Regions from separate parts of the Homo sapiens genome. Here region 1 is linked to region 2. The links are contacts of gene promoters, found by promoter capture Hi-C in human tissues and cell types (Jung and others, 2019). All regions are on one chromosome and are shown on one strand. The core of a region is centred on a gene start or on the middle of the fragment in contact, and the rest is flanking DNA. Distances in the headings are between cores, read along the strand shown.

The links. Contacts are between HindIII fragments. The study calls those that stand out against the background at their distance.
Region 1: a contact is called between a fragment that was not itself captured here and the fragment with the promoter of HAUS1 in region 2, in 1 of the 25 tissues and cell types used here (heart right ventricle).

What each region holds. Positions count from the first base shown.
Region 1 is chr18:46,471,784-46,477,061 of GRCh38, forward strand. It overlaps a transcript of LOXHD1 not described here. Among named protein-coding and RNA genes, the nearest start is that of ARK2C, 140 kb to the left of the region's middle. The HindIII fragment of the contact is 6,562 bases long and covers 473-5,278 here.
Region 2 is chr18:46,102,947-46,108,442 of GRCh38, forward strand. It overlaps HAUS1 (HAUS augmin like complex subunit 1), which reads left to right and starts at 1,439. Exons shown (of 9, transcript NM_138443.4): 1 at 1,439-1,495; 2 at 2,248-2,422. The coding sequence starts at 1,466. It also overlaps a transcript of ATP5F1A not described here. RefSeq lists a silencer at 1,264-1,363 and an enhancer at 1,754-1,843. The HindIII fragment of the contact is 15,712 bases long and covers 1-5,496 here.

The DNA of each region.
Region 1 (5,278 bases), core at 2,504-5,003, 370 kb after region 2:
AAGTCCTTGAGCTGGGATGAGTCTCATCATAGAAAATATTCTAAGCCATGAAATAGACTCATTTACCTACACACATCCATCCACTCGCCAACTCTCCATCTATCCATCCACCCATCCACTCATTCATCCACCCTCTCACCCATCTGTCCATTTATCCACTCACCCATCCTGTCAACCAGTCAGCCAATCAGCCAGCCAGCCAGCCAGCCAGCCACCCAGCCACCCAGCCACCCAGCCACCCAGCCACCCATTCACCCACCCATCCACCCATTCACGCATTTACCCATCCATCCATCCACCCACCCATCTATCTACCCATCCACCCATTTATCCATCCACCCACCCACCCATTCATCTATCCATCCACCCATCCACCCACCCATTCACCCGTCTATCCATCCATCCACCCATCCATCTATCCATCCACCCATCCAACCACCCACCTACTCATATATCCATCCATCCACCCATCCAACCATCCATTCATCCATTCATCCACACACCCATCTATCTACCCTTTCACCCATCCACCCACCCATCCATCCATCCATCCACCCACCCATCCAACCATCCATTCATCCATTCATCCACACACCCATCTATCTACCCTTTCACCCATCCACCCACCCATCCATCCATCCATCCACCCACCCACCCATCTATCCACCCATCCCCCCATCCACCCACCTACCCATCCATTCATCTATCTATCCATCCATTCACCACACATGCACTTAGTACCCACACTATGCCCTGGGGCCTGTGCTAAGTGCTGGGGTTACAGAGATGAGTGAGACCTAGCTTTTCTTCTTAAGGACTCACACTCCAGTTAGGAAGACACATGAGGAGACACACAATTCCAACATACTTCTCATAGATGTGGGTGGGCTTCTAGCTCTGTCTTGGGGGAGGGGTAATGGAAATGTTTCCTGGAGTGATTGGAGGCCTTGAGTTGAGATGTAAAGAATGTGATGCACAGAAAAGGGGCTTCCAGGAGCCTGATTAGAGGGGCCCAGAACTTGCCTCCTCCACCAAGAACAACCAAAACAGCGAGTAGATAACCAAACATCAAATAGAGCTTCCAAGAGAGAACACTAGAATTCAGCAGGGAAGTGACAGGGAACTTCTAAAGCATGGAAGGAGAAGGCAGGGATTGGCTCAGAGCCAGGAGGGGAAAAGGTAAGCAAGAGATCCCCAGTGGTCCACATTACACTGCAGACTCCTGCAGTCCTCATCATGGGAGAGTCCTTCAGCCCTCATGGGCCCTGAGACAAGTATGGAGAGCTGCCTGGAGCCCATGCGACTGCATTTCTCCAGAGATCGTGTTCATGCCGAGTCCACACACCCCCTGAGATCAAAGTAGCTGCAGCACAGCACCATCTTAAGAACCCAGCCACCACCAGACTATATCCTGCCCAGGGCCCAAAAACCCCTGCATCTCCACATCCCTGGAGACCCACCCACAACCCCCACATCTACCCAGGGGGCTGCAGCATTGCAACAATGGCTGGACCCAGGAGTGTGACCAAGTCCCCAGCACTCTAGCCCACGTAGTATCCTATACCTTGAGGGATGGGTGATGCAGCATGCCAAGGAGTCTCCCCTGGGGACAAAGGGACCTGAAGTGTGTGCTCCCCAGAACCTGAGGGCCACCTGCCCTGGACTGCTGCCATTGCCCTTCAGCAGCAGAGCAGCAGGTCATGATCTCACTCAGAAGTGGGAGATAAGAAAGTTGTTCTCATGGAGGTAGAGAGTAGAATGATAGTTATCAGAAGCTGGGAATGGGGTTGGGAGGAATACAGAGAGGCCGGTTCATGGGTATAAACATGCAGTTAGATAGGAGGAATATGTTCTAGAGTTTTACAGCACAGTAGGGTGACTCTAGTTAACAATAATTTATTGTATATTTCAAATTAGTTGGAAGAGCAGATTTGAAATGTTCCCAATACAAGGAAATGATAAACATTCGAGGTGATGGATATGCCAATTACCCTGATTTAATCATTACAGATTGTATACATGTATCAAAATACCATATGTACCCCACAGATGTGTATAATTATTATGCATCAATTAAAAAAAAAGAATGTGGGCCGGGAGTGGGGACTTTGGGAGGCCGAGGTGGGTGGATCACCTGAGGTCAGGAATTCAAGACCAGGCTGGCCAACATGGTGAAACCTCATCTCAACTAAAAATACAAAAATTAGCTGGGCCTGGTTGCATGTGCCTGTAATCCTAGCTGTTTGGGAGGCTGACACATGAGAATCACTTGAATCCAGCAAGTGGAGGTTGCAGTGAGCCGAGATCGTGCCACTGCACTCCAGCCTGGGTGACAGAGTGAGACATCATCTCAAAAAACAAAACAAATCATAATAATAAAAAAAGAATGTGAAGCACAGTGCCTGGTAGGGTGGAGGAATGGATGGGTGGCAAGGAGACTTCAGGCACAGATCAGCCCTGGCAGAGGACAGCAGAGAGGACAGTGTGTGTGACATTGCTGGGGGCCACCCTGCTGGGCACAGAGCTGTGGGCGACTTGCCCAGATGGAGATGGCCCAGGTCCAGGGACTTGGAGAACCAGGTAGGGGGCAGGGGGTGGGGAGGCCTGTGGGTAAGAAAGTGCCCCGGAATGGACCAAAGGTATTAATGAGTTTTAATGGAGCTCTCGAAGCAATAGTTTCCTCAGATCCCAAGTCCTCTGAGGAAAGCCGAGCCAGCAGGGCAGGTAAAGGATGGCCGGAAAGCTCTCTAAGGTCCTGGGGTATGTTGTTGAGCCAGGCCAGCACTACCCCATCGATGGTAAGCCAAAATTCACAGGACACACCAGCAACAGGATGGTAACGGGTTCCTCCTGTACCAGCAGTGGCCGAGTCACCCACAGATGCCACACTCTGCAGTGAGAGCCCTGTGTATCTCTTGCCAGAAGGACAGGGCAGAGAACCAGTTTGGACTCTGGGCTGCACACTCATCTCCAGGTCCTGACAGGGAATGGGGAGGCTGAGAGGAGGCAGTGGATTCGAGGGCAGGACATCCTGAGAGGCCTGCTGTGGGGCTGAGCGTGCGCCCTGCCTCCTGGCTGCCCTTGAATCTGAGGCAAGCGACTGGGGCTTCAACAGGGCTATGTGAGATGGGGTGTGACCATACACGGCAGACAAGCTGCCTGCCCACTCTGGAGACATGGCTGGGATGAGATGGGCTGGCCCCGGTCACAGAGAGGTGAGTGGCCTGAACGGCTGGAGTGTGTCAGAGAGAAGGGTGCCCGAGGGCCTCTTGTGGAGTGTCTCAGATCCTAAACAAGAGGACAGTGTGGAGGGTGAACCCACACAAGTGCTCATGAAAGTCTAAACACCTGCCAGGTCTGGAAACAAAGACACTAGCCACAATAGCAGCCCTCAGACAGGAAGCTGCCTGCTGCCTTCACCTCTCTTCCTCCCGCAGGAGTCTGAAACCCTGGGTCACCAAAAGGCAGGAGGAGGAGGGACAGGGCAAGGCAGGGGAAGAGAGGGGAGGCTGACTCACATACACACATATGCATGCACACATCACACCCACATTCATGTACACACACACAGATTCACATGCATGCACAGCACAATCACACACTTGTATACACACACAGGCACACAGATTCACATGCATGCACACACTGCACTCGTGTTCACACACACATGCCTTCACACACCCAGATACACTTGCATGCACACACACCACACCCACACTTGTGTACACACATGCACACATATTCGCATGCACGCACACACACCTGCACACACACTGATGTGTGCGCACACACATGCTCTCACACATCTTCACATGCATACATTCACCCTACACACACCCACACTCATGTACACACACATGCCCAGTGATTCACATACAGGCACACACCACATATATACTAATGTGTACACCCACACATTCAAACACACACTATACCTTATACCTGCACACTACATAATACACTCACTGCACACACACTCACACCCCTCCCTCACTGTGGGCCCACCTGTGACGGGACTGAGCCAGGAGATGGCAGGAAGCTTAATTTTAAGTTTGATGTTTTAATCTTTACTTTGGGGCTGGACATTTAAATTATAGAATGGAGATGGATTTCATGACTTAAAGTGTTTGTTGGACTTTTTATTACCTACTGGAGTCCACAGGAGTTGTGAGGCTTGTCTAAATTTTCATCTAGGGACAGGGGAAGAACCAGTTCCACAGAAGGAGATGGAAACAAAGCTGTTTAATGATGCCATCTTCCCCTCCCCATCCCCCAAGTCCTGCGTGTTCAGCATGGTGGATATACTCACTATCTGGTGTAGGCACTGAATTTAAACTACATACACATGAACTCATTTAGTCCTCATCATAACCTACAAGGTGGGCATTGTGATCATTCCCCCTGTGTTACAGATAAGGAAACTGAGGCCCAGAGAGAGAAAATAATGTGCCCAAGTTCTCACAGTTGCAAAGAGGCAGAACGGGGATTTAAACCCAGGCTGGTTGCCCCCAGAGCCTGTGCATTTAACCTCTCTCTGAGAGATCTCTGAGAGGGGCCTGAACTTGCCTCAGGGTCCTGAAGCCTCACTGCGAGTTTAGACCTTTCTGGGACAGAGGGTGCAGGGACAGCAAAGTGGCAGAAACACTGGTCCTGGGGTGCCCTCCTGTAGGGATATTTTCCAGCCCGACCCACCTTGTTGCTGTCCTTTTCTCTACAGGAAAATCAGAAGTTAGGTGCTGAGCTCTGCGAAGTCTTGCTGTGACTTTGTGACTGCCGATCAGGGAGAGTGTGTGTGCATGTGTGAATCTGTGTGGGTACTCAAATGTACAGTTCTCCTGCTGCCTCTCCATCAAGGTCACATTCCCCTTGAGGGTAAAGACCAGGTCTTCACTTTGTTCCCAAGCCCCTCTCAGCTCTCAGTCCAAACCTTGCCCACAGAGAGCCACAGGTGATAATCACCAAATAACCTCAATGACCCTGCTTTCTCTCCCGGCCTTAGAGTGCCAGTGACCAGGCTGTTGCAGGTGCCATCCCTATCACCTTTGTGTCCAGTCCTGACTGTGTTAGCACAGGCTGGGATAACCAGCAGGCACTTGCCAATGCGTTCTCTGTAAAGTGATGGAAAGAATTATCTACTTTTCACAGGCTCATAAATCCCCCGGCAAAACACTTCTTCCTGAGGTTTTTCTCCACTTGCCACTGGGTTTATTGAAACTGGGGAAAAGTATACACTTCTTAGCAAGCAGATGCTAAGATGAGTTCTTTATAGGATATGGTT
Region 2 (5,496 bases), core at 189-2,688:
AAAAATAAAATAAAATAAATAATAAATAAGCTTGGCTTGCTAGTAAGTTTCCTTTGAAAAGAAAATCATTTTAGGCTGGGTGTGTTGGCTCACACCTGTAATCCTAGCTCTTTGAGAGGCCGAGGCAGGCAGATCACTTGAGGTCAGGAGTTTGAGACCAGCCTGATCAACGTGGTGAAACCCCCCGTTCTACTAAAAATAAAAAAATTATCCCTGCATGCTAGCACAAGCCTGTAATCCCAGCTACTAGAGAGGATGAGACAGGAGAATTGCTTGAGCCTGGGGACGGGGGTTGGAGGTCGCAGTGAGCCAAGATCATGTCACTCTGCACTCCAGCCTAAGCGACAGAGAAACACTCCATCTCAAAAAGAAAAGAAAAGGTCGGGCGCAGTGCCTGTAATCCCAGCACTTTGGGAGGCCAAGGCGGGCGGATCACCTGAAGTCAGGAGTTCGAGACCAAGCTGGCCAACCTGATGAGATCCCATCTTTACTAAGATACAAAAAATTAGCTGGGCGTGGTGATGCACACCTGTAATCCCAGCTACTCGGAAGGCTGAGGCAGGAGAATCGCTTGAACCCGGGAAGCAGAGGTGGCAGTGAGCTGAGAGCCGAGAGCCGAGATCGTGCCACTGCCCTCCAGCCTGAACAACAGAGACTCCATCTCAAAAAAAAAAAAAAAAAAAAAAAAGCTGGGCGCGCTGGCTCACGCCTGTAATCCCAGCACTTTGGGAGGCCGAGGTGGGCGGATCATGAGGTTAGGAGTTCGAGACCAGCCTGGCCAATATGGTGAAACCCCGTCTCTACTAAAAACACAAAAATTAGCCAGGCGTGGTGGCGCTTGCCCGTAGTCCCAGCTACTTGGGAGGCTGAGACAGAAGAATCGCTTGAACCCAGGAGGCAGAGGTTGCAGTGAGCCGAGATCATGCCACTGCACTCCAGCCTGGGCGACAAAGCGAGACTCTGTCTCAAAAAAAAAAAATGTCCCTAGTTTTTAGGTTGGGGGAACTAACGGATCAAGTTAAGATTGCCTCAGCTCATATTGCCAGGGTAGAATATAAATTCTGAGTGGATGCAATCAATGTGGAAGAAACACAAACATCTTGCTAAGCAAGAACCAAACGTTTCAAGTACTTTTTTTTAACGACAAGTGATTCAAACAAGAAATAAAAATAAAAGAAAGAAAAAACAACCTGGTTCTAGGCGGCTCTATCTCTCGTAGTGTTGATTATACCGCGGAAGGCGGGAAGAGCTGGGAAGTGGCAACGAAGCGAGGCTTGCAATGCCAGAGCCTTCGACCAGCCTTGCACAGGGGCTCAACGGCCAGGAGTCTCAGGTAAAACCACAACTCCCAGAAATCCCGGGCCCGGCGAGGGGCGGGTGCCAACGGCGTGTGGGCGGGGCCTAGGGAGTGAGCGGGGCGCATCTCCCGCTAGGAGTTCCTAGTAAAGTGGCGGGAGCCGCAGCTATGGAGCCGCAGGAGGAGAGAGAAACGCAGGTGATGGGGCGGGAATGGGGATCGTTGGCCTCCTGGAAAACGCGTTTTTGACACCCCCGCGCCGACAGCGGGTCTCCTGTGCGCGCCACGTCTACTTTTCTCTCCCCTATTCCACACATCCGTCTTTTAGTGCCGCCGTCACTATCTGCAAGCCCCCCGTGCTTAGACTCTCCTGAAGGCCTTTCCCTTCCTGCCCGGGCCTCCCCTTGTTTGGATCTGGCCCGGGAGAGGCGTTGAGCAGCCCGTGTCCACAGACTCTGGAGTGGGACTTATGAAGCCAAACCCGCCTTCCGGTTCGCTGCTCAGCCCGGCGGCTTCCACATCTGAACTGCTTCCGCGCCCTGCATCCCAACACTGGGAGCCTCCCGGCGCGGCGGGGCTTCTGGTGATCGAGGGACAATTGCTTTTTTCAGACCATGCACGGTCTAATAATGCGTTCGCATTATTATGGTCTATTAAGCTTTAAGGTTTTTCAAGCGAGGCAAATTGTTAGCCTGTACCGCTTTTGCAGATTTGGAAAAGAACGGATTGTTCTCTGGTAATTTTCAGTATTGTACGTTTCTTTGTGTACTTGCTCACTTTTTATTTCCTGATATCTAGTATCTCCCTAAAGACAAGTGAGGTTGTGAAGTAGGACTCCAAAATAGTCACAGAAAGCATTTAGTTTGCTTTTGATCACTTCTTTGTCATATTCTCATCGAGCCATTACAGTAAACAAGGCTTATAATATTTGTCTTTCTTTTAATGGTTAGGTTGCTGCGTGGTTAAAAAAAATATTTGGAGATCATCCTATTCCACAGTATGAGGTGAACCCACGGACCACAGAGATTTTACATCACCTTTCAGAACGCAACAGGGTCCGGGACAGGGATGTCTACCTGGTAATAGAGGACTTGAAGCAGAAAGCAAGTGAATACGAGTCAGAAGGTGAGATTAAGTCCAGAGTTTTGAACGAGAATAAATAGAGGTAACCAAATTTTATAACACTAAAGTATACAGGATTAATTTACTGTAGACTACTTGTTTTGCTCCTTTATTTTTCCCAGATTTTCTTCCACTCTGTTATAGTAGTAACTTTATTGTTTTATGTTTATATATATGTATATGTATGTGTGTGTGTGTGTGTGTGTGTGTGTGTGTGTGTGTGTGTGTATATATTTTAGACAATCTTGCTCTGTCGCCCAGGCTGGAGTGCAGTGGTGTGATCTCAGCTCACTGCAACCTCCATCTCCTGGGTTCAAGTGATTCTCATGCCTCAGCCTCCCAAGTAGCTGGGACTACAGGCCTGCACCACCACACCCGGCTAATTTTTGTGTTTTAGTAAAGACAGGGTTTCACAATATTGGCCAGGCTGGTCTCGAACTCCTGACTTCAGGTGATCCGCCTGCCTCAGCCTCCCAAAGTGGTAGGATTAGAGGCATGAGCCACCCTGCCTGGCCAGTAGTAATTCTCTAAGTAATAAATGTTATTATACTAAATATCTTATTGGTACTCTGATAGCAAAACAGTAAGCCTTAAAAGAGTCTAAACTTGTTAGTCTGACACACAAGATGCCTTGTGGTTTTTTACTTACCTATCTGTTTTTTCTGTTTCCGGTCTCCATGATTTAGTCATACGGACCTATCAGGACACCTGAGGTGGTGGCCATGAAATGTGAGACTTGGACGAAATTACTCTATGACTACGTATCAGGAGATTGCATTAGAATTTTCTGCTGGGCATATATAGTTTGAAAAAGTGCATTCAAGGCCGGGCACGGTGGCTTACGCCTGTAATCCCAGCACTTTGGGAGGCCGAGGCGGGCGGATCACAAGGTCAGGAGATCAAGACCATCCTGGCTAACACGGTGAAACACCGTCTCTACTAAAAATACAAAAATTAGCCGGGCGTGGTGGCGGGCGCCTGTAGTTCCAGCTGCTCGGAAGGCTGAGGCCGGAGAATGGCGTGATCCCAGGAGGCGGAGCTTGCAGTGAGCCGAGATCGCACCACTGCACTCCAGCCTGGGCGACAGAGCAAGACTCCGTCTCAAAAAAAAAAAAAGAAAAAAAGAAAAAGTGCATTCAAGATGCCTATTGTTTTGATAATACAAACCACAAAAGTAAAGATTGACAAAAATCTTTTTAGATACGAGAATACACCAAAGAGAGGAAGTGAGGCCTGCATTTGCCCTATATTTAATCAGATGTATGGTATTTGTTACATATGATATTTTGAATATAGTGCAGTTTATATTTGATTCTATTGCATATGTGCTTTTTTCCAGTTTTCTTTTAAAAGTTAATATACAGCAGGGCCAGGTGCAGTGGCTCACGCCTGTAATCCCAGCACTTTGGGAGGCCAAGGTGGGCGGATCACTTGAGACCAGGAGTTTGAGACAAGCCTGGCCAAGATGGTAAAACCCCGTCTCTACTAAAAATACAAAAATTAGCCAGGTGTGGTGGTATGTGCCTGTAATCCCAGCTACTTGGGAGGCTGAGGCGGGAGAAATTCTTGAACCCGGGAGGTGGAGGCTGAAGTGAGCAGATATCACACCACTGCACTCCAGCCTGGGCAACAGAGTGAGACTCTCTCAACAACAAAAAAAAATTAATTAATTAATTAATTAAAAATTAACATACAGTAAAATTGACTTTTTATTTTTGTGTACCATTTTAATACACTTAGAGTGTAGAACCACTCTCACAATCTGAAATCACACAATCAAGATGCAGAACAGTTCCATCACCCCAAAAACCTCCCCTGTGCCACTCCTTTATAGCCATATTCTCCCATATATGTGCTTTTAAAATTGTCTTATTTTTAAATGATTTTATTTTTGTAATTATTAAAATACAGTGCAGAGAAAGGGACTTGGAGCCCAGAAAAATCTCATTTTATAAGAGCTTTCTTTTTTGTCTATCATATACTGTAACCAAAAATCTAAGGATTTCAAAGTAAAATTATTTATGTCTGTCCTTAAATACCTTTCAGGGTGATACATATTAAATAACAAATGTTCTAACTAATGTATGCAAAATTTTAACACAATTTTTATGTCTAGGTATCTAGAAGAGCATTGCCACCATTGAGATCTGATAGCTCTATGCATCATTACTTCTCTTTTCTAAGTTTTTCCTTCTTTTATACAGTGAAAGTGTTGAGCAGAAAATGAAAAATATGTGGAACTTTATAACAAGTGTACATTGATGTGTATTGGTAAAGAGTTTCAGCTTCCTCCATTTGCGATTCTAAAAACTGAGTAGTAATGCCATCTATAGCTCGCTGGACTTGAATGACCTTTGAGTTAAAAATAATCCAAATCATTTTTTAGGTGCAGTTTTTATTTCTGCAAAGCACAGTTCTTTACAGCACATGAGATTGGAACTTTTGGAAATATTTGCAGGAATTGGGAAAGGACATAAAACTTTTAGATGAAGTTTTGTTGTTGTTTTTGTTTTTTATAGTGGAGAGACAGAGTCTTCCTATTTTGCTCAGGCTGGTCTTGAACTCCTGGGTTCAAGTGATCCTCCCACCTCAGCCTACCAAGTAGCTGGGATTATAGGTGCACACCACGTGCCTGGCTGTGTGGAGATTTTTAATCATGAGGAATACAAATGAAACTATTGAAACTATTCATTCTTCGTGCCACCTGTTTGTCACTTGAGGAGGCAAATGAGAAGAAATTGCCCTGGCTAGAACCTCCAATATGATGTTGGATAGAATTGGCAAATACAGACTCCTTGTCTTGTCCCTAATCCTAGACAAGAGAGAATCCAGTCTTCACCATTAAGTGTAATGTTAGCTGTGGGATTTTTGTAGACACCCTTTGTCAATTTGAGGGAATTTACTTCTTTTTTTTTTTTTTTTTTTGGTAACGGAGTCTTGCTCTGTCACTAATTTTGTATTTTTACTAGAGACAGTGTTTCACCGTGTTGCTCAGGCTGGCCTTAAACTTCTGACCCTGCCTCACCCTCCCAAAGTGCTGCGATTTATAGGTGTGAGCAGCCACTCCTGGCCCACTC